Regions from separate parts of the Homo sapiens genome. Here regions 1, 2 and 3 are each linked to region 4. Evidence: promoter capture Hi-C in 16 types of primary human blood cells and fetal thymus (Javierre and others, 2016). All regions are on one chromosome and are shown on one strand. Each heading gives the region's core, a stretch centred on a gene start or on the middle of the fragment in contact. The rest is flanking DNA. Distances are from core to core; before and after follow the strand shown. Region 1 overlaps FRMD4B (FERM domain containing 4B). Region 2 overlaps FRMD4B (FERM domain containing 4B). Region 3 overlaps FRMD4B (FERM domain containing 4B). Region 4 holds the start of LMOD3 (leiomodin 3).

Region 1 (4,793 bases), core at 2,059-4,558, 240 kb after region 4:
GATATTCATTCATGGTGTTGCATGTATTAGCAATTCATTCATTTTCTGATCGCTGAGTAGTATCCATTGCATGAATATAGTATAGTTTATTTATCTCCTCTCTTGTTAATGGAAATCAGTTGTTCTCAGTTTGGGGGTATTAGAAGTTATAAGCTATGAATATTCTTTTACAAGCTGTGTGTGTATGCATGTGTGTGCACATGCATATGTTTTCATTTCTCTTGAATAAATGTGCATGAATAGAGCTAACAGATCATAGGATGAATGTACGTTTAACTGCCAAATAATTTCCTAAAAGGTCATACCATTTTACACTGCCAATATATGAGAGATCTGGTTATCCCACATCTTTGCCAAAATGTGGTATTATAGGTCTTCTTAATTTTAGTTATTTTAGTGACTGTGAAGTAGTAGAAGCATTTGTGTTTAAGTGACTTTTTGTTTGCACAGGTATAGGTTTAGGTGATAATTGTAGATTAATAATAACAAGCACTTATATAGTACTTCATATGTGCCATACTCTGTTCCTGTTTATTATAAATATAAACTCCACAATAACTTTGAGGTCGGGACTATTATTATTATCTCCATTTTACAGATGAGAACACTGAGGCATAGAGAGGTTAAATAACTTACATGAAATCACAGCCAGGAAGTAGCAGATGAAGGCTTTGAACCTACACAGTTTGGCTCCAAATTTCAGGCTCTTGACTTGTGTGCTCTTCTGCCTCTCACAATTGTTAATTGGAATCCTTTCCAGTTCTCTAGCATTTCACTGAGACACTGGTAAATATTTCTGGTTAAGACAACTATCACGAAGTCAGGAGCTCGAGACCAGCCTGACCAACATGGTAACACCCCATCTCTACTAAAAGTACAAAATTAGCTGGGCACGGTGGCGCATGCCTGTAATTCCAGCTACTCAGGAAGCTGAGGCAGGAGAATCGCTTGAAACTGGAAGGCGGAGGTTGCAGTGAGCCGGGATCGTGCCACTGCACTCCAGCCTGGGTGACAGAGTGAGACTCCATCTCAAAACAACAACAACAAAAAGCCAACCCCCCCCCCAAAAAAACAAACAAAAAACAAAAACAAACTATCATGTTAATTTAAAAATCCCATACTTTTTAAAATAAAGAACTGTGAATTTTAAACAATTTCTTTCTATTCCTGCCCATCTTATTCTGAACTTAAACATTTTCCTTATATCAGCACATCTCCAATTTTTATTATATGTTTCCTAAAAAGTTTTTCATTTTGAATACTTTTGTTGTTGTTGTTGGACAATTCTTCTATAAGTCCTGACCTTCAAGTCCTGAGCTTATATTGTATCAGAATGCTTTTTACAGTAAAAAAAAAAAAAACAAACAAAAAGTGAAAATAACTTTAATAATATGGATCTATATTCTCAGTATCTCCAGGTAGGGCAGTGCCAAGGTTGGTGAGGTCAACAGATTAGCAATATCGTAAAAGTCCCAGGCTTCTTCTATTTTTCCACCCGGCCCATTCTTCTTACGTAACATTCCCTCATGGTTGCAATATAGCTGCCATCCTTGAAGCTCTCACATCTCCACTCCAAAAAAAAGGATCACTTCTTTTTACCATGTTTTTTTTTTTTTTTTAAATAGAGATGGGTCTTGCCATGTTGCCCGGGCTGGTCTTGAACTCCTGAGCTCAAGTGATCCTCCCATCTTGACCTCCCAAAGTGTTGGGATCATAGGTATGAGCCTCTGCACCTGGCCTCCATGCCTTTTTTTTTTTTTTTGAGACGGAGTCTTGCTCTGTTGCCCAGGCTGGGGTGCAGTGGCACAATCTCAGCTCACTGCAAGCTCCGCCTCCTGGGTTCACGCCATTCTCCTGCCTCAGCCTCCCGAGTAGCTGGGACTACAGGCGCCTGCCACCACGCCTGGCTAATTTTTTGTATTTTTAGTAGAGACGGAATTTCACCATGTTAGCCAGGATGGTCTCAATCTCCTGACCTCGTGATCCGCCTGCCTTGGCCTCCCAAAGTGCTAGGATTACAGGCGTGAGCCACTGCACCTGGCCCAGCCATGCCTATTTTCAAGAACAGACAGCTTTTTAAGAAATGGCTCCCCATTGACCAGAGCTGGGTCCTATGTTTACCCTTAACCAATCCCTGGCAGAGGAATAAGGTCATCATGACTAGCTTCAACCACAGCTTCAAAACCAGTGTACTGAGGCAACAGGTGTACTGAGCTATTGGTCTTTTCAGGACTGGAGGCAGCCAGAGACAATTTGGTGATCACCTCCAGCCTGAGCAGCTTCTTCCATTTACTCCAGGTGCCACACAAACACTATCATTTTCTGTGTATTCTATGACATCAGAGAAAGTAGGGAAGCACTGGGTTAGAGACCAATCAATCAGTATTTACCCAAGTTATATGGGCAAGGGGGTGATATTGATCCCTGAACCAAATCAGGCCTCTCAGGATGAAAGAAGCAAAGAATGGATGTTTAAATCAGGCTTAGAAAATGAACACAAAACAAGAGAACCCACAGGGAGCAAAGTAACAAGTTATGTCACGCGACTATCTTGCCTGTCCCACTCACCTCAGTTACTGCCTTGATGATTCTGACTTCCAAACATCCTGTCCTTTTAGCTCAAACTCAGAAGACAGGAACATGCAAGTTTAGCCAAGCTGAACCAGGGGACAGACAGAGGACAAGCTGGCCCCTTGGTGGCCACGGCAGGAAGCATGCGCTGGGACCTGCCATTTTGCCATCTGCCTGGTGGGCACCTCCAGAAGGGAGACTGGGTGCTAATGGTATGCCAGTGGTGAGTGAGCAGCTAAAAAATATGACAAAAACATTCATTGGGAAACTTCCTGCAGCAATTCCAGTTTGCCTCTGAGTCAGCCTGGCTCTGGTTAAAGTCTATATACAAACAAATCTGTGGGTCAACCCATCTTCACCCTCAGGGCACTATCTCCAGAATAACCATGGCATTAATGGGATCAGCAGTTTCAATCATCTCCTGAGTAATCAGTTCTGGTGCCTCCCCAAATGAGACAAATGACAGTTTCATGGTCGCTCGTGGCTATGAAATCTCATCGAGACAATTCGACTCTGGTTAAATTATATTTAAGTTAATAAATATGAATTTAGATGGCCAAAGAAGCTCAAAAACCCCTGGGCATCTAAGACAAAAAAGAAAAAATAAATGGTGCAGCATTCTGTTCTCCTACCCCAAGCTTTCTCACTTGTTTTTTTAAAAAAATAAATAAAGGCCTTGGTGATTCCTTCTCAGTTCATCTAAATGAAGTTTAGGCCATTTACAGAAGAGATAAAACAAAATTGCTGAAATTCACTAAACAGTAAAGGAGGAAACCACAATATGAAACCGAATAGTATAGTGATTATAAAAAGCAATAACTATTCTCAGCCATTTCTAAAGCTTAAGATTTTAGTGCATAACAGAGAGGCTGTGTGAACATCTATCTTTATGGCACTTGGGTTTTAACCAGCAATGCTCTATATAAACCTATTTTAACTATACAAGGAAATTCCATATCACTCTGAGATGACAAATATTCTCTAGGAGACTAAAACCTGCTCTCAAGTCTGGCTCTAAAATTGTTCTCAAACCAATTTATACTGTGACAAAACACAGTATGTGTTTCCCCCAATGTTATCGGGCAAGAACAACTCCAGTATTCCAAGTATCATGGTCCTTAAGAAAGTTATGGAAATTGGACATCTCTACTAATAAATGAAGTAAAATAAAAACAAATAAAATGTACATTTTTGGCCAGCAGACTGGTATAAATCAAAGTTGCTAGCTAGAATGTGGACAAGAATGATTCTTATTCACTTGGTAGTAGCATAAATAGATACAACCTTTGTTTTTTTTCTTTTTTTTGAGATGGAGTCTTGCTCTGTTGCCCAGGCTGGGGTGCAGTGAAGCAATCTCGACTCACCACAAACTGCCTCCCGAATCAAGCAATTCTCCTGCCTTAGCCTCTGAATAGCTGGGATTACATGCGCACTTCACCACGCCTGGCTAATTTTAGTATTATTACAGACGGGGCTTCACCATGTTGGCCAGGCTCATCTTGAACTCTTGACTTCAAGTGATACACCCGCCTCGGCCTCCCAAAGTGCTGGGATTACAGGTGTGAGCCACCGCACTCAGCTGTGGAATTTTCGGAAAACCAAATTCCTTCCAAATTCCAGCAATATCATTTCAAAGTATTCACTTCACAGAAATGCTCCCACAAATGTTTTATGTATAAGAATGGTTACTGTAGCATTGTCTTAGTAAAAATTAGAAACAGGTCAAGCATGGTGGCTTATGCCCGTAATCCCAGCACTTTGAGAGGCTGAGGAGGGGGCAGATCATTTGAGGCCAGGAGTTTGAGATCAATCTGGCCAACATGGAAAAACCCCACCTCTACAAAACACACACACACACACACACACACACACACACACACACACACACACAAAATTAGCTGGTCATGGTGGCACAGGCTTGTAATCCCGGCTACTTGGGAGGCTAAGGCAGGAGAATTGTTTGAACCCAGGAGGCGGAGGTTGCAGTGGGCCGAGATTGCATCACTGCACTCCAACCTAGGCAACAGAGCAAGGCTCTGTCTCAAAAAACAAAAACAAAAACAAAAACAAAAAAAATTGACAACAACTTAATGTCCATCAATAGGAGACTGATGTAATTATTAAAAATTAATTATGGTTCATTCATACCATTGAATATACAACACTTATTAAAAATAATGACATATATCAGTATGTAAGACATGTAAGTAAATACATTTTAG
Region 2 (5,278 bases), core at 2,599-5,098, 210 kb after region 4:
TTGCCAACTGTCAGTTTTCTCTTTTCCCGTGAAAAACAACCTGTAGGAAGGAGTAAAAAAGTACTGCGTCTTTCAAAGACTTAAAAGTCTCAAGTGTAACTTGTGTGAAGAGATATTGAAAATAAACTGCAGTACTTGTAATTTAAAGATATTCTAGGTATTGCCTATTCACGGTATAATACATTTGGAAATCCTGGGCTCAATGGAAGCCACTCACAAAGCAAACAAATCACATACATCGTCCTGAGAACCTAAGAATTAGCAAAAATTAATTAGAAAATCAGAATCAACTTTACATTAATTATGGAGTACATGCTTACTCTCAGGGTTTTCATGTTTCAATTTTTCGTCAACCCTGTTAGAATGTCTCTGATTTATGCTTTTCCAAGTCTCTTTATTTTTTGTGACTCATGTATAGGTAGAGGCTGAAATAAGTCCTCCTTAGGGAGTTTATAATTAAAACAAACGGATTGTATTAGGTCCAGAGTCCTAGCCTATCTCTGATTTGTTGGTAGAAACATCATATTTGGGTAAGGGTTTTAGAAAAGCATCACCAAATTGTAAAAACAGAAAAGTCAAACTCATTTGGGACATATAGAAAAATTCTTAATCTTAACATCCAGGACTTGTTTCACTGTCACAGAAGAAATATTTCCTCTCAACTTACAGGCTTATATTATTTAGTCATGAAGCTTCCTTGTCACCTAATGCAGGCTGTGTTTTTAAATGGGATTCAGACTCTTTTTGAAGCCAATGTGGGATTCAACGATTAAAACAAAACAACAAAACTGGAAGCCACAGGTCAGGAGAACATAGAAATATGAAAAAGGAGTTAAGAAAAAAAAGATTTATTGGCAAGCACCAGGGAACATAACTGGGAGGAAAGATCTTTTGAGAGACAGAATGGTGGTGGAGAGCTGGCTCTTGGCCACTCACGAAAGCCCACTGTCCCATTTTCAAGCTGGTTGTTAGGTACAACTAATATGAACTTACAATGAAATAAATCGCATTAAAAGCAAAGGTAATAAAACTCTTCACTTTCCAATTGTTTTACTACATTTACTATGACCTTTGCTCTTGTGGTTATTGAATCTGCATGGAAGTAACACCATTTAATGATATGCTACTGCTCGTCTCTTCCCAGATCAGTAAGTCAGTCAAGGTGAGAGTATTTACACCACAGAAAATGGCAAGTGTTGCAAATCAGTGTCCCTTTTTCCCCAGAGCTGGTTGTGTCAGAGGTGTTTGCACTGGAGTGACTCCATCTTGAATAGGACCTGGGTAAAATAAGGCTGAGACCTACTGGGCTGCATTCACAGGAGGTCAGGCATTCTTAGTCACAGGATGAGATAGGAGGTCAGCAGGGCTGGTATCACAAGATACAGGTCATAAAGACTCAGCTGATAAAACAGGACACAGCAAAGAAGCCAGCCAAAACCCACCAAAACCAAGATGGTGATGAAAAAAGACCTCTGGTAGTCCTCACTGCTCATTATACACTAATTATAATGCAATTGCATGCTTTAAGACACTCTCACCAGCACCATGACAGTTTACAAATGCCATGGCAACATCCAGAAGTTACCCTATATTGTCTAAAAAGGGAAGGAACCCTCACTTCTGGGAACTGCCTGCCTGTTTCCTGGAAAATTCATGAATAACCCACCCCTTGTTTAGCATATGATCAAGAAATAATCATAAAAATAGCCATCTAGCAGCTCTCGGTGCTGCTCTGCCTATGGAGTGGCCATTCTTTTGTTTCTTTACTTCTCTAATAAACTTGCTTTCACTTTACTCTATGGACTCATCCTAAATTCTTTCCTGCTCGAGATCTAAGAACTCTTGGGCTCTGGATCAGGACCACTTTCCAGTAACAGCTGAGAAACATTTACCAGCATACCAGTGGAGAAAGTGATGGTCAGAACACTCAGGATGTGGAGGCCGTTGAGAGACCACGTGATAAAGATGAACAAACAGAGGCTTCAGGTTTACAGAGAATTCTGTTTGAAGCCCAGCTTACTTAACTTTAGTAGGACTTACTATTTTAAATCTCTAAAATAGATTTACTAATACCTTCCAGGGTTGTTGTGCATAGAACTTGGCGAACAGAGGCCAACATAAAGGTGACTATTATAATTTATTTCTTTATTTTTATTTTTATGTTTTGAGACAGAGTCTCATTCCGTCACCCAGGCTGGAGTGCAGTAGCGCAATCTCTGCTCACTGCAACTTCTCCCTCCCGGGTTCAAGCAATTCTCCTACCTCAGCCTCCCAAGTAGCTGGGACTACAGGCATGCACCACCATGCCCAGCTAATTTTTTTTTTTTTTTTTTTTTTTTTTTTTGAGATGGAGTCTCACACTGTTACCTGGGCTGGAGTGCAATGGTGTGATCTTGGCTCACTGCAGCCTCTGCCTCCTGGGTTCAAGCAATTCTCCTGCCTCAGCCTCCCGAGTAGCTGGGATTACAGGCGCCCGCCACCAGGCCTGGCTAATTTTTTTTTGTATTTTTAGTAGAGACGGGGTTTCACTATGTTGACCAGGCTGGTCTCAAACTCCTGACCTCAGGTGATCTGCCTGCCTCAGCCTCCCAAAGTGCCGGGATTTGTTATAATTTATTATTGGGTACTGGGCTTTATACCTGGGTGATGAAATAATCTGTACAATAAACCCCTATGACACGAGTTTACCTGTGTAACAAACCTTCACATGAACCTCCCAAACCTAAAAGTTAAAAATAAATTTATTATTATACTTCAAGAAATCCACAGTGCATAGCTCACTGATGAAGGTCTCCTGACCTTGGATGGCAACTCTCATATCAGATCCTCTGTGTCATTTGCCTTTCCAGCTCTTTTGCCACTGGAATGTAAGTTCCACAAATGCAGAGATTTGTTTCATTTCCTGGTGTTTTCCTAGCCCCTAAGACAGTGCTTAGCTCATCCTGGGGCTCGACAAATATTTGTGGAATGAACAAATGAGTTGATTTTCCTTCATTTCCATCTCCTGCTCTCCTTCTGAATTTTCTACCCATTTCTACTTTGAAGGTCCCATTGGCAGCTGAGTGACTCCTTTGTCTTTTTTTTTTTTTAATATTATATATATTCAAGGTATACAACATTATATTTTGATTCTTTTGCCTTTTTTTTTTTTTTTTTTTTTTTTGAGACGGAGTCTTACTCTGTCACCCAGGCGGGAGTGCAATGGGGTGATCTCGGCTTACTGCAACCTCTGCCTCCTGGGTTCAAGTGATTCTCCTGCCTTAGCCTCCTGAGTAGCTGGGATTACAGGTGTGCGGAAATATACCTGGCTAATTTTTGTATTTTTAGTAGAGACAGGGTTTCATCATGTTGGTCAGGCTGGTCTCGAACTCCTGACCTCGTGATCTGCCCGCCTCAGCCTCCCAAAGTTCTGGGATTACAGACGTGAGCCACTGTGCCTGGCCGCCTTTTTTTTTTCCTTATCTATGTATTTTATAATAGAGACAGGGTCTCACTATGTTGCCCAGGCTGGTTTTGAACTCCTGGGCTTAAGTGATCCTCCTGTCTCAGCCTCCCAAAGTGCTGGGATTACAGGCGTGTGCCACCACGCCCGGCCTCTTTTGCCGCTGAATTGCTAGATGCCTCCCAGTTGTGTTGCTGCTATCTTTCTGGAATCTTTTCCCTGCTGAAGGAGGCTGCCATGACCTTAAAGCACCGGTGGAAGATGTTTCCAACTTTTTCATTCACAAGCAGATTTGAGCACATGTCATTATGCTCTGTCGGCAAGTTTCTCCCACTTCTGTTCCTGCTCTATTCTAATCTCAGTTCCGTTCTGCCTCCATCAGAAGGAACGAACGTGTCTTGTGAGAGGAAATCTCAACCAACACTTGAGGCTGTATCCAGGGAACCAAATATTTTCCCCCGTGTCCCTATCTCAAAGCTGTTTCTTAGACTTCCTCTTAAACAGTATTTCTGAAGGGTGGGGAGGGTAGAGTAGGATCACTCAAAAAAGCGTTGGTGCTTCTGGTAAGAGTGGCCTGGACAGGGGATTATGCAAACTCATTGAGGAGTCCTTAAATTCCAGAATTTGAAATTTTGGTCACTCTTGCTTTAGGCAGAGGGATAATACTGGGTGCAGCTGGCCACTCAGCCCCTCGGCGTAGGGCGGTGGTTGGGAGCAGCCCCTGGGGAGTCAGACAGGTATGATATCTGATGCTGGCCTGCCCTCTAACTAGCTGGTGACTTTAGGCAAGTCATGTATCCTCTCTGAGTAGCTGCTGTAAAATGGAGATAATTTTGCCTAGTGCACTGTTAGCATTCCATATTATTACTTTTTAAAGTACAGTGTATTATTTAAGAAGTGTCAGGGTCAAGAGCACAGACTTGGACTTAAATCCCAGCTCTGCTCTATACTACTGTGTGACCTTGTATAGGTTACCTCACTTCTCTTGACCCTTGGTTTTCTTGTCTGAAAATGGAGATACTAAAAGCACACTCACTTCCCAGGGCTGGGTGGCTCACATGAGATAAGATGTATAAAATGCTTGGCAGAGGACACACTCTATAAATGGTAATATTAATAATTATTAATAATATTATACTTTTCACTAACAAACAACAAGTAATTGGCTGGGCATGGTGGCTCACGCCTATAATCCCAGCACTTTGGGAGGCCGAGGTGGGTGGATCAAGAGGTCAGGAGTTCAAGACCAGCCTGGCCAAGATGGTGAAACCCTGTCTCTACTAAAAATACAAAAATTAGCCTAGCGCAGTGGCTGGTGCCTGTAATCCCAGCCACTCGGGATGCTGAGGCAGATAATTGCTTGAACCCAGGAGAGGGAGGTTAAAGTCAGCTGAGATCACGCCACTGCATTCCAGCCTGGGCGACACAGCAAGACTCCATCTCAGAAAAAAACAAACAAACAAAAAAACACCAAGCAATTGATACAGACTCCTTCAGGATGAAAGCTCCCACAGGCCATGTTCAGGTGCCGGGCAGGTGGTGAGCAGGTTCCACTCTGTCCCTGGACCTTGCAGAAGAGAAGGGAGCAGGCAGGTCTGGCCACATAAAACCTAGTCTGAATGTTCCATCATCACCTCACCTGTCTGGAGTGCCTCAAATTTTTGAAGTGCTTTCACCTCTATTTCCTCTTTTGAACTTTACAAGGAGTCTCAATGTGCCAGAAATGTCATACCCTCATTTTACAGATGAGGTCACTGAGGCCCAAAGAAGCAGCTACTCAGAGAGGGCACATGCCTTGCCTGAAGTCACCGGCCTCAGGTGAGGATGGCCAAGATC
Region 3 (5,342 bases), core at 209-2,708, 160 kb after region 4:
CTTCCAGGTTCAAGCGATTCTCCTGCCTCAGCCTCCGGAGTAGGTGGAATTACAGGCGCCCACCACCACACCCAGCTAATTGTTGTATTTTTGTAGAAACAGGGTTTCACCATGTTGGCCAGGCTGGTCACGAACTCCTGACCTCAAGTGATCCACCCGCCTTGGCTTCCCAAAGTGTTGGGATTACAGGTGTGAGCTACCACACCCAGCCATCTGCATAATAATTAGATAGAAAATATCCCACTCTAAATTCCTACAAATAAAATTTAAAAAATTATCTCAATAACAGTCATAGTGCCTTACAATATTATGTTCTGTAAAAGTTCTAAATTATTTGACAAGTCATGAAACACTCCCATTTAGAAAGGAGCTCCCAGGCCAGGCGCTGTGGCTCACACCTGTAATCCCAGCACTTTGGGAGGCCGAGGTGGGTGAATCACTTGAGGTCAGGAGTTTGAGAACAGTCTGGCCAACATGGTGAAACCCCATCTCTACTAAAAATACAAAACATTAGCTGGACGTGGTGTCAGGCGCCTGTAATCTCAGCTACTCGGGAAGCTGAGGCAGAGAATCGCTTGAGCCCAGGAGGCAGGGGTTGCAGTGAGCTGAGATTGCACCATTGCACTCCAGCCTGGGCAACAAGAGTGAAACTCCATCTCAAAACAACAACAACAACAAACAAAAAACAAAAAAGCAACAACAACAAAAAAAAAAAAAAAAGAAAGAAAGGTGCTCCTAGCAACTGACATTCATGAAATGCAGTAGCATTTAAAGGAATTCTGCTTTTCCTTGCTTTCTCAAGACAAACAGAATTTAGCATGCAGAGGTACAAGAGAAACGTCATGAGTTGAAAATCTTCATTCTAACCACCTTTGCATTAGCAACAGAGAAAACACTTGATCAATGCCAACTAGGCAGTGAAAAATATTACAAGGAGCGATTGTATGTCTCCACATAGGAGAGGATAGCCAACTGTGGTTTATGAAACGTGTTCCTGACTCAGTAAATGCTGTGTTTGAAAAGCTGTGTTTGTTATATAGGTGTCTACTCATCAGTCAACCCTTAGAGTTCTTAGGAAAACCTGAATCTCAGAAAAGAGGGCTGTAGTAAAGCCTTTGATGCTGGGAACATTTTACTTTCCCGATAGACTCAGCCAAAAACTCTGCTTCGAATATTTACACTTCCAGCCAAGATGGAGTAACAGGGACTGAATTTATCCTCTTAACTGAAAAAACAAAACAAAACAAAACAAAAAAAACAAAAAACAGACAAAATATATAAAACAACAGTTTTCATAACACTGAATATCCAGCAACGAAGATAGTGAACCTTGAACAAGGCGAGCCCTATGACTGCCCCCAGTACTGTCAAGAGAGGGCTCCAGGCTGTGGAGGGAGAAACACAGCAGAACACAGTGAACTCCCTGAGCTAAGGAGATGCAGCAACTCCTTAGTCTGGGAGATCAAAATGAATAGAATTTGCAGAACAGTCTGCCAGAGAAAAGAGAGCTGCGAAGAGAGAGAACCCCTGAAAATCTATAGAGGGTCTCCTCTGAGGATTCGGTAGAGCACTCATCATTCCATGCATGAAAAGAAACTACCCAAAGTTGGAGACCATCTGAAAGGATAAGAGGGAAGAGTGCCTCATCCTTACAGGGCTGGAGGTGGTGCCTATTCCCACCAGCCAGAATAAAAAACTCATAATTCATGGGGCATTGAATAGAGTACTCAGGAAGATCAGTATGCAGAACAATTAGCTATAGAATGTGCACTGCTCTGGGCTAGACTAACAAATCATAAAAGCAAGACCTGAAAAAAACCAAACCATATTCAATCAACTAAACTGCATCCCAAAACCAAACATCAAGAATATTTATAGGAACACAAAAAATATATAGCATTCAAAAAGATACAATTAATAATGCCTACCATCCTACCAAATATTGCCAGGCATGCAAATAGGCAGAGAAACATGACCCATAACAAAGACAAAAATCAATCAAAAATACCCGGAACTGACACAGACATTAGGATAAACAGACAAAGGCATTAAAACAATTATTATAACTATATTTAATATGCTTAAAAAGTTAAATAGTCACATGCAAGATGTAAAAAGGATCCAAATCAAACCTCTAAAGATAGAAACTCTAAGGCCGAGCATGGTGGCTCATGCCTGTAAATCCCAGCACTTTGGGAGGCTGAGGTGGGAGGATCACCTGAGGTCAGGAGGTTGAGACCAGTCTGGCCAACATGGTGAAACACCATCTCTACTAAAAATACAAAAAATTAGCCAGGTGTGTTGGCACATGCCTGTAATCCCAGCTACTCGGGAGGCTGAGGCAGGAGAATCACTTCAATCCAGGAGGTGGAGGTTGTGGTGAGCCAAGACTGTGCCACCGCACTCCAGCCTGGGCAACAAGAGTGAGACTCTGTCTCAAAAAATAAAACAAAACAAAAAAACAAAAACAAAAACTCTAATATACAAAATGGGATTAATGGCAGATTAGATTGCAAAAAACAGATGAGGGAAACTGAAGACAAAGCAAGAGAAACTATACAAGATATCATATTCCCCCAAATCCCCACAAATGCAAAGCATTACTATGTGACAAGTTCAAGTGGCCAAGCGTATGTGTAATTGGGCTTTGCAAATGAGGCATACATGAGGCCAAAAAAAAAAAAAAAAAACCTGAAGAAATAACGGCTAAAATGTTTCCGAATTTGATGACAACTATAAGCCAAGATGCTCAATAAATGCCAATGACACACACACATACACAAACACATGAAGAAAGCTATACCAAGGCACCTCATAATAAAAATCCTCAAAGCAGGCCAGGCACAGTGGCTCATGCCTATAATCCCAGCACTTTGGGAGGCTCGAGGCAGGTGGATCACCTGAGGTCAGGAGTTTGAGACCAGCCTGGCCAATATGGCGAAACCCCATTGCTACAAAAAATACAAAAATTAGCCGGGTGCGGTGGTGCACACCTATAGTCCCAGCTACTCGGGAGGCTGAGGCAGGCGAATTGCTTGAACCTGGCAGGCAGAAGTTGCGGTGATCTGAGATGGCACCACTGCACTTCACCCTGGGCAACAAAGCGAGACTCCATCTCAAAAAGAAAAAAAAAATAATTGCTCAAAGCAGAAAAAAGAAAAAAGAGAAAAATTTAAAAGCAGCTAAAGAAAAAGATATTCCATACAGAAACACAAAGATAAAGATGACAGCAGACTTCTCATCAGAAACAATGCAAGCAAGAAGATAGTGAATCAGTATTTCTAAAGTACGGAGAGAGAAAAACTGCCAACAAGAATCCTATATCATGTGAATTATCTTCTAAAACCAAAGGCAAATAAAGATGTCTTCAGGTACAAGCTGAAGGAATTCACCACTAGTATGCCCACACTATAAGAAATGCTAAAGGAAGTCCTCCAGGCAGAAAGAATCATAACAGACAGAAATATTAACCTACACAAGTGAATGAAGAGCAACAGAAATGCTAACTCCATGGGTAAATATGTAAGACTTTTGGTACTGTTTAAATCTCTTTAAAGTTAATTGAATATTTACACAAAAATAATAATGTCATGTGCATCTGTAACTTATCTAAAAGTAAATTGTATGACATCAATCGCATAAAGGCTGAGAGGAGAGAAATGGAAGTATACTACTGTAAGATTCTTATGCTACATGTGAAGTGGTATAATATCATCTTGAAGGTAGACTTGATAAGTTAAAAATGTGTATACTATAAACCCTAAAGTAACCATGGAAACAACAAAGAGTTATAGCTAATAATCCAACAAAAGAGGTAAAATGAACACATAACATGCTCAATAACCCTAAAAGAAGGCCTGGAAACAGGTATACAGTCTGGATAGGGAATTCTGAGATTCCCAGGCATTGAGATCAGAACGTACAAGGGAGGAGCCAGGCTCCACTGGGCATCTCTTGGCCCATGGCTTCCCTTCCCTTCCTCAGGAAGTTGCTTGAGAAGACCACAGTGAAGGCTTTTAAAGCTATGCTAGTCTGCAAAGAGAAAAAACAAAAAACTGAGAGTGTTTAAAAACTTTTTTTGTTTTATTCTTGTTTTTGAGACAAAGTCTAACTCTGTCGCCCAGGCTGGAGTGCAGTGGCACAATCTAGGCTCACTGCAACCTCTGCCTCCAGGGTCCAAGTGATTCTCCTGCCTCAGCCTCCCGAGTAGCTGGGATTACAGGGGCACACCACCACGCCTAGCTAATTTTTGTATTTTTAGTAGAGATGGGGTTTCACTGTGTTGGCCAGGCTGGTCTCGAACTACTGACCTCGTGATCCACCTGTCTTGGCCTCCAAAAGTGCTGGGATTACAAGCATGAGCTGCCATGCTCGGCCGTAAAAACGTTTATAGCAATTTGACATGGCTGTAACATCCCAGCATGGGATTATTTTTCTAGCAATGCATGTTTATTGAATTTTATAAAAGTGATCTGTCCTTGATTCATTAGATAGAAATAAAAAACAATAAAAGAAAAACCCTGTCCCTTACCACAGATAACTGAGATACTGCTTGAAAATATGTGGCTGTGAGCAGCTTTCCTTGCCTAGATTTAAGGTGGCACATGTGTGCAGGGATCAGAAGGCAGAAATTGAACCGAAATAATAAGGCTGGTTTTGAATTACTGTAAGTGTAGGGCATACCTTATTTAAAAAGATTTCTGGCCTAGACGTTTTGATTATGATCTGATTGATCCATCTTTCTGTCTTTCTGGGTCACTCTGTGTCGATTATTTGCTGGATTTAAAGTAGTAGTGATTGTGCATATGCAGGATTCCCGTGCAGATGGTTGTCTTTCCCACTCAGAATTTGAGAAAAGATACCATTTGTGTATGTGTGTAGTTGGGGGGTAGGACATATTCATGGAAAAGATTGTGGCCTTTTTTTTTTTCTTAGTTTGAATGCAAGAAGAGAGGCAAAACCATTTCTTCCTGTCATCCCAGTCGCTCTGGAGGCATCCAGTGAACATGACAAACGGGGCACCTACCTTGTGCACACAGGCCTTTGCATTCAGGAAAAACAGCTCCACGGTGGTTTTATCCTTTAAAAACGATATGCTCTCAATGTAAAACCTGAAAAACAGCAGAGGAGTTTGTTCCTTCAGATTTATTTTCACCTCTCAGCATTCCTCATTCAGTGTTCCCCAAAAGCAGGGCAAGAATTTTGAGAAACCTGAGGAAGGTTGTGCTTTCTTTTCCGTTTTAAAAGAAATATGCACCGCACGTATTTATGTGATGGATGTATGTGTATGTATACCTAAAATCTCTTTCAGGATGTTTTTGTGTCTTGGAAGGTGAGTTAAA
Region 4 (4,881 bases), core at 1,282-3,781:
CAAGAGAGGTTTATGAGGGTTAGAATACATAGCAGAGAAGAAATATGAAGTGGAGCATCAGCTAGTGGAGATAATAAAAATGCTTATTTAAAAGAGCTGGTTGCTATTTTAAATAATCCTTATTTAAATAGCTGATTGCTAAAAATGGGTGGTTATTCTATCCCATAAATTAAAATGAGTATTAAAAGGAAACCTTATTAATTTTAATATTCTGTACTTTTTAATGGTGTTTAATTTCAGAAGCAGTTAAAAATTGTTTTGAAAACCTCATAGAATTGTTCATCGATACACTGAAGCTTTGATTTTGTATCTACCAAATAGGCATCTAGTACCCAACAGTCCTGAGTTAGGGCAATAATTTCCTTATTATTCCAATATATTATAAATGTGATACTATAAATATATTAGAATAAGGAAATTATTGCCCTAAAATTAACATCCCTACAATGTCTACTAATCTAGTATAGAATGTACATGAACTTCCTCTGAGAACATAACATAATGTATGGGAAATTAGATACGTTTGACATTTTGGAATATATATATATTTAAAAACCTCAATTTTGATTTTGAATATATATATATACATATATATATTTAAAACCTCAATTTTGATTCTATTTTTTCAGTTCTTTGACAACTGCCATGATACTCTGTCTAGGACAAGTTTACTATCCCAGTTTCTTGTGAAAGAAAGTGCCTAGGAACCAGGGCCAGCTGTAAGATGAAACAGGATTATGCAGACATTGAGAAATAATTGCTTAGTCTGGGAAATAAAATGGGCCTTTTATCAATAATATGTATTAGATTCTTGCACATCAATTATAATGCTTTTCTATGCAACTTGTGGGCCTCATAGATATCATTTTGAAAGCCAGTATAGCAAGTTGAGACACAGGTTCATTTGAGCAAAAATTTCATGCTCATAACATAGGTCAGAAGAGACAGTGACAAGTCACCTTAACCACCTGAAGTCTTCACCACTGCATTTCTCACCTTGACCAGAAGGGGGAGCCAACCATCAAGCTGTTCAAGTTATACCAGAGGAAGGAAAAACATGTTGCAAGTACTCGTTTTTACCCCCTGAAACTGGCATTCACATAGAATTGGCTTTTCATCCATTGATCTCCAGTTGTAAAAAATCTGCAAATTGTACCTTGAACTCTAACCTGATCAATCCAGCTGTTTCTTTTCTTAATCTTAGCACATGTTTAAACTCTACTGACTGTAAAACCAATTGACAACTTTCCTTAATTACAGCCAGCTTCAGAGTAATTTAACAAGATGTATCTTTGTAAACAGGCATAACCTAAAGAGACTTTACCTAGGAGGCATCTCTGTCCTCTTTTTGTTAAGTCATTTTCAAGTGGAACATAAAAAAAAAAATTATGCTCATGCACAGTAAGTTTGCAGAGTTAACAATTCTAGCTTTCAGGTTTTAGAAAGTGAAGAACTAGCTTCAAAACCACTTAATAGCCATCGATTTCTAAATGTCATCACTGACAGCCAATACATAGTAATAATATAAGACATTTTCTGGTTATTCGACTTGGTTTAATTGCAGGTTGTGTGGCCAGACTTCAGGAGGACTGAAATGTTTGACACTGTGTGCGAAACACTGCGTATGTTTGGATGTGCCAGAGAGACAGAGGCTACAGAGCTGTCATTACTTTCTCAAAGGGGCCTGCAATAAAAAAGAAAGAGAGAGGTAAGGACAACTGCCTCTGGGTTATGAGTTAAGTCACTAAGTATCGTGGCAATAGAACACAGGCTTTCTGACACAGCAAACCCGACAGCAATTTTTAAAAAGAGACATTTGCAAGAAATTACCCAATTTTCCCCTTGTAAATATAAATGTGTTTCAGAAAGTTCCAGTCGGAGTAGGATTAAATATTATGGTTTAATCTAGATATGGCAAAAACAAAGCAGAACCAAACCCTGGAGTCTTGAGAAATCACAGTTACAACAGAGAGACCTAACAGCCCATCCCAGGCAGCCATTTCTCGGTTGTACACAAATCTCTGGTTACCTCGGATTTCACAAAGGTGACAGGAACTCGTTCCTCTTCCAGCATGCGCCTGGATGCCTTTTCCCAATACATATAATCAACAAGAGATTTATGATTGAAGTTTCCTGTCGGTGGCTTGTCAGTTTGATCTTTCTGAATCATTCCCACGGGAAGGCTGGGGTCAGGGGCCATGACTTCCATTTCCGACTGCAGTTCTTTCAGTTCTTCAGCAGACAAGTTGGCCAAGATTTCATCTTCATTAATCTCCTCATCGAGAAGTTCTTCTTGATCTGAATTTCTGCTGTGCTCTGACATTATTTTTTCTAAATATTATTTTACTAGAAAAGAAGAATAATCAAAGATGATTTTTAAAAAGAAGGAAAAAAGCCTCAAGAAGGTCCCCCAGTTAACGAGTGTCCCAAGTTAACACACCCTTGAGATATTTTTTTTTTTTTCCCAGGAACCTCAGTGGTTTGCTGAGCAGCTAGGAGTGATCACAGCTAAGCTCTTGCCGGATCTATATTAAGCAGGGCTTGGCTGGATGGGGTCAATTTATGGAACAACTATGCTGCTCTCTTTTTGGCAACTTGAGTCAGCTGCGCAAATCCATCTGACATTTCAGTACAGCTGCTATGTTTGCCAGAGACTAGCAGAGACTACAGAATCTCTGCAGGAATAAAATTAATTATCTTCCTATATGCCATCATATTGCCATACACAAATTCATGCAGCTCATACATACATACCCCAATACTCCAGGGGATTCCACTTGTTTTTATTTAAATATTAAAGCAACTTACAATATTTCAGAAGGGAAATCCAACCAGCAACCTGAGTTGTTTCTGAAGTAAAGAATTCACTTGAAGGTAGAAATCAAGCTCTTAGGGTCTGCCTCTTCCCTACAAGGTGAGTGTGGAAGCAAATAAAGTGGTGCACAGTGGAACAGAGGTCTTGCTATGTCACTCATCCTCTGTGTAAGCCGAACCTTTGCAAGATGTCCTGTTTGCATCTAGATCCTGTGATCTAACAGATGGGGACAACCAGCACTTGGATTTCCACTATAAGTGAGTTTAATATTTTAAATTATTTGCTTTTCTTATTAAGTATCCATTAAGCCAATATCAATGAAAATGGCTCTAAAGTGAAGTGTTAAAAAAGAAATCCAGACCACTAATATACTAAAAGAAACTATGAGAAGATTTTGTTTTCAAACCCTGAAGGGGCAATATGCAACATTTGTCCAAATTACAAATGCCCATTTCCTTTGACCCAGCAATTCCACTTTGAGAAGTGTATCCTACAGATATACCCCTACATGGGTGAAACAACGTGTGTACAAGGTTACACAATATAGCAAAGTACAAAACAGTGTGTTTTACATGCCATTATTTGTGTGACAAAGGGTACAATAATATATAATATACAAGTTTTATTATATATATATTTAAGACAGGGTCTGGCTCTGTCACCCAGGCTGGAGGGCAGTGCTGCGATCTCAGCTCACTGCAACCTCTGCCTCCCAGGATCAAGCTGGGACCACAGGCATGCACCACTACACCCAGCTAATTGTATTTTTTGTAGAGACAGGGTTTTGCCATATTGCTCAGGCTGGTCTCGAATTTCTGAGTTCAAGCAATCCACCTGCCTCGGTGTCCCAAAGTTCTGGGATTACAGGCGTGAGCCACCGTGCCTGGCTCGTAAATATATTCTTATTCCGAAATATACATTCATTGTACAAGAGTTAGGATAACATAGAAAGGCACAGAACAAAATCTTCCCCTTACCTCACTGTGAAGCTACCACTATTAACATTTCAGTTTTTTCATTCCAGTCCTTTCTTTTAGGCATACAAACTCTATCATTTTTTCTCATCTGTTTTTTTGACTGAGAAAGTCAGGATTCTTTTTTTCTAGGCAACTGTGTACTCTACTACTAAATAATTTTTTATTGCCCTCTGTTAGGATTCTTTATATGGATGTACCATAATTTGTATAACCAATCCTCAATTGTTGGATATTTAGAATGTTTTCAATTCTCACAAGCACAAATAGTTCTTTAATAAATATCCCTATACCTAAATAGTTTATAAACACACAAGTTTATTTCTTTAGAGTAAATTGAACAAATTCTAAAAAGTGAAATTGCTAGGTCACAGAATACGAAGAAATTAAATACTTTTTATATGTAGATTAAAGTAACAGCAAAAATCACAATTACTTTTGCACCAACCTACTAGGACCCATCTCCAATCTACTTATATTAAATATTTACAAATACTATACATGTTGGCCGGGCGCCGTGCTCATGCCTGTAATCCCAGCACTTTGGGAGGCCGAGGCGGGCAGATCACCTGAGGTCAGGAGTTCAAGACCAGCCTGGCCAATATAGCAAAACTCTATCTCTACTAAAAATACAAAAATTAGCCAGGCGTGGTAGCAGGCACCTGTAGCCCCAGCTACCCGGGAAGCTGAGGCAGAGAATCACCTGAACCTGGGAGGCAGAGGCTGCAGTGAGCTGAGATCACACAACTGCATTCCAGCCTGGGTGGCAGAGCAAGACTCCATCTTAAAATAAATAAATAAAAACAAACAAACAGATATACATGTTACCATTCCAACATTTCATATATATGTAAGTTTGAAACTTGAGACACCCCCATTCCTTTCTCCAAAAGTATCCAAGGATTTTAGTTTCTTGTGTATCTGTCCAAGGATATTTTATTGATAAAATTTGTGAAAAAGGAAGAAAAAAAAAATCAAATCAAGTGTGAGTTTGAAATGAAAGTTATAATATTTTCTTCCTACCCTAGTGTTTTATCTTGAGCATTCCAGGTTGAAAGGCTTTTCATATGTAATTAATGCCCCAGAAAGGTA

Evidence for each region. The method cuts DNA at HindIII sites, captures the fragments that hold promoters and counts their contacts. A CHiCAGO score of 5 or more calls a contact.
Region 1: a contact is called between a fragment that was not itself captured here and the fragment with the promoter of LMOD3 in region 4, in 1 of 17 cell types (activated CD4 T cells). The highest score is 5.6, in activated CD4 T cells.
Region 2: a contact is called between a fragment that was not itself captured here and the fragment with the promoter of LMOD3 in region 4, in 5 of 17 cell types (neutrophils, activated CD4 T cells, total CD4 T cells and 2 more). The highest score is 11.7, in neutrophils.
Region 3: a contact is called between a fragment that was not itself captured here and the fragment with the promoter of LMOD3 in region 4, in 1 of 17 cell types (neutrophils). The highest score is 6.5, in neutrophils.

What each region holds. Positions count from the first base shown.
Region 1 is chr3:69,361,646-69,366,438 of GRCh38, forward strand. All of the region lies in intron 1 of FRMD4B (FERM domain containing 4B), which reads right to left. Among named protein-coding and RNA genes, the nearest start is that of FRMD4B, 22 kb to the right of the region's middle. The HindIII fragment of the contact is 203 bases long and covers 3,208-3,410 here.
Region 2 is chr3:69,327,202-69,332,479 of GRCh38, forward strand. All of the region lies in intron 1 of FRMD4B (FERM domain containing 4B), which reads right to left. Among named protein-coding and RNA genes, the nearest start is that of FRMD4B, 56 kb to the right of the region's middle. The HindIII fragment of the contact is 6,316 bases long and covers 691-5,278 here.
Region 3 is chr3:69,282,726-69,288,067 of GRCh38, forward strand. FRMD4B (FERM domain containing 4B) reads right to left here. Exons shown (of 23, transcript NM_015123.3): 5 at 5,027-5,111. Among named protein-coding and RNA genes, the nearest start is that of FRMD4B, 100 kb to the right of the region's middle. The HindIII fragment of the contact is 9,726 bases long and covers 1-5,342 here.
Region 4 is chr3:69,120,064-69,124,944 of GRCh38, forward strand. LMOD3 (leiomodin 3) reads right to left here and starts at 2,532. Exons shown (of 3, transcript NM_198271.5): 1 at 2,030-2,532. The coding sequence starts at 2,323. RefSeq lists an enhancer at 1,387-2,586. The HindIII fragment of the contact is 5,880 bases long and covers 295-4,881 here.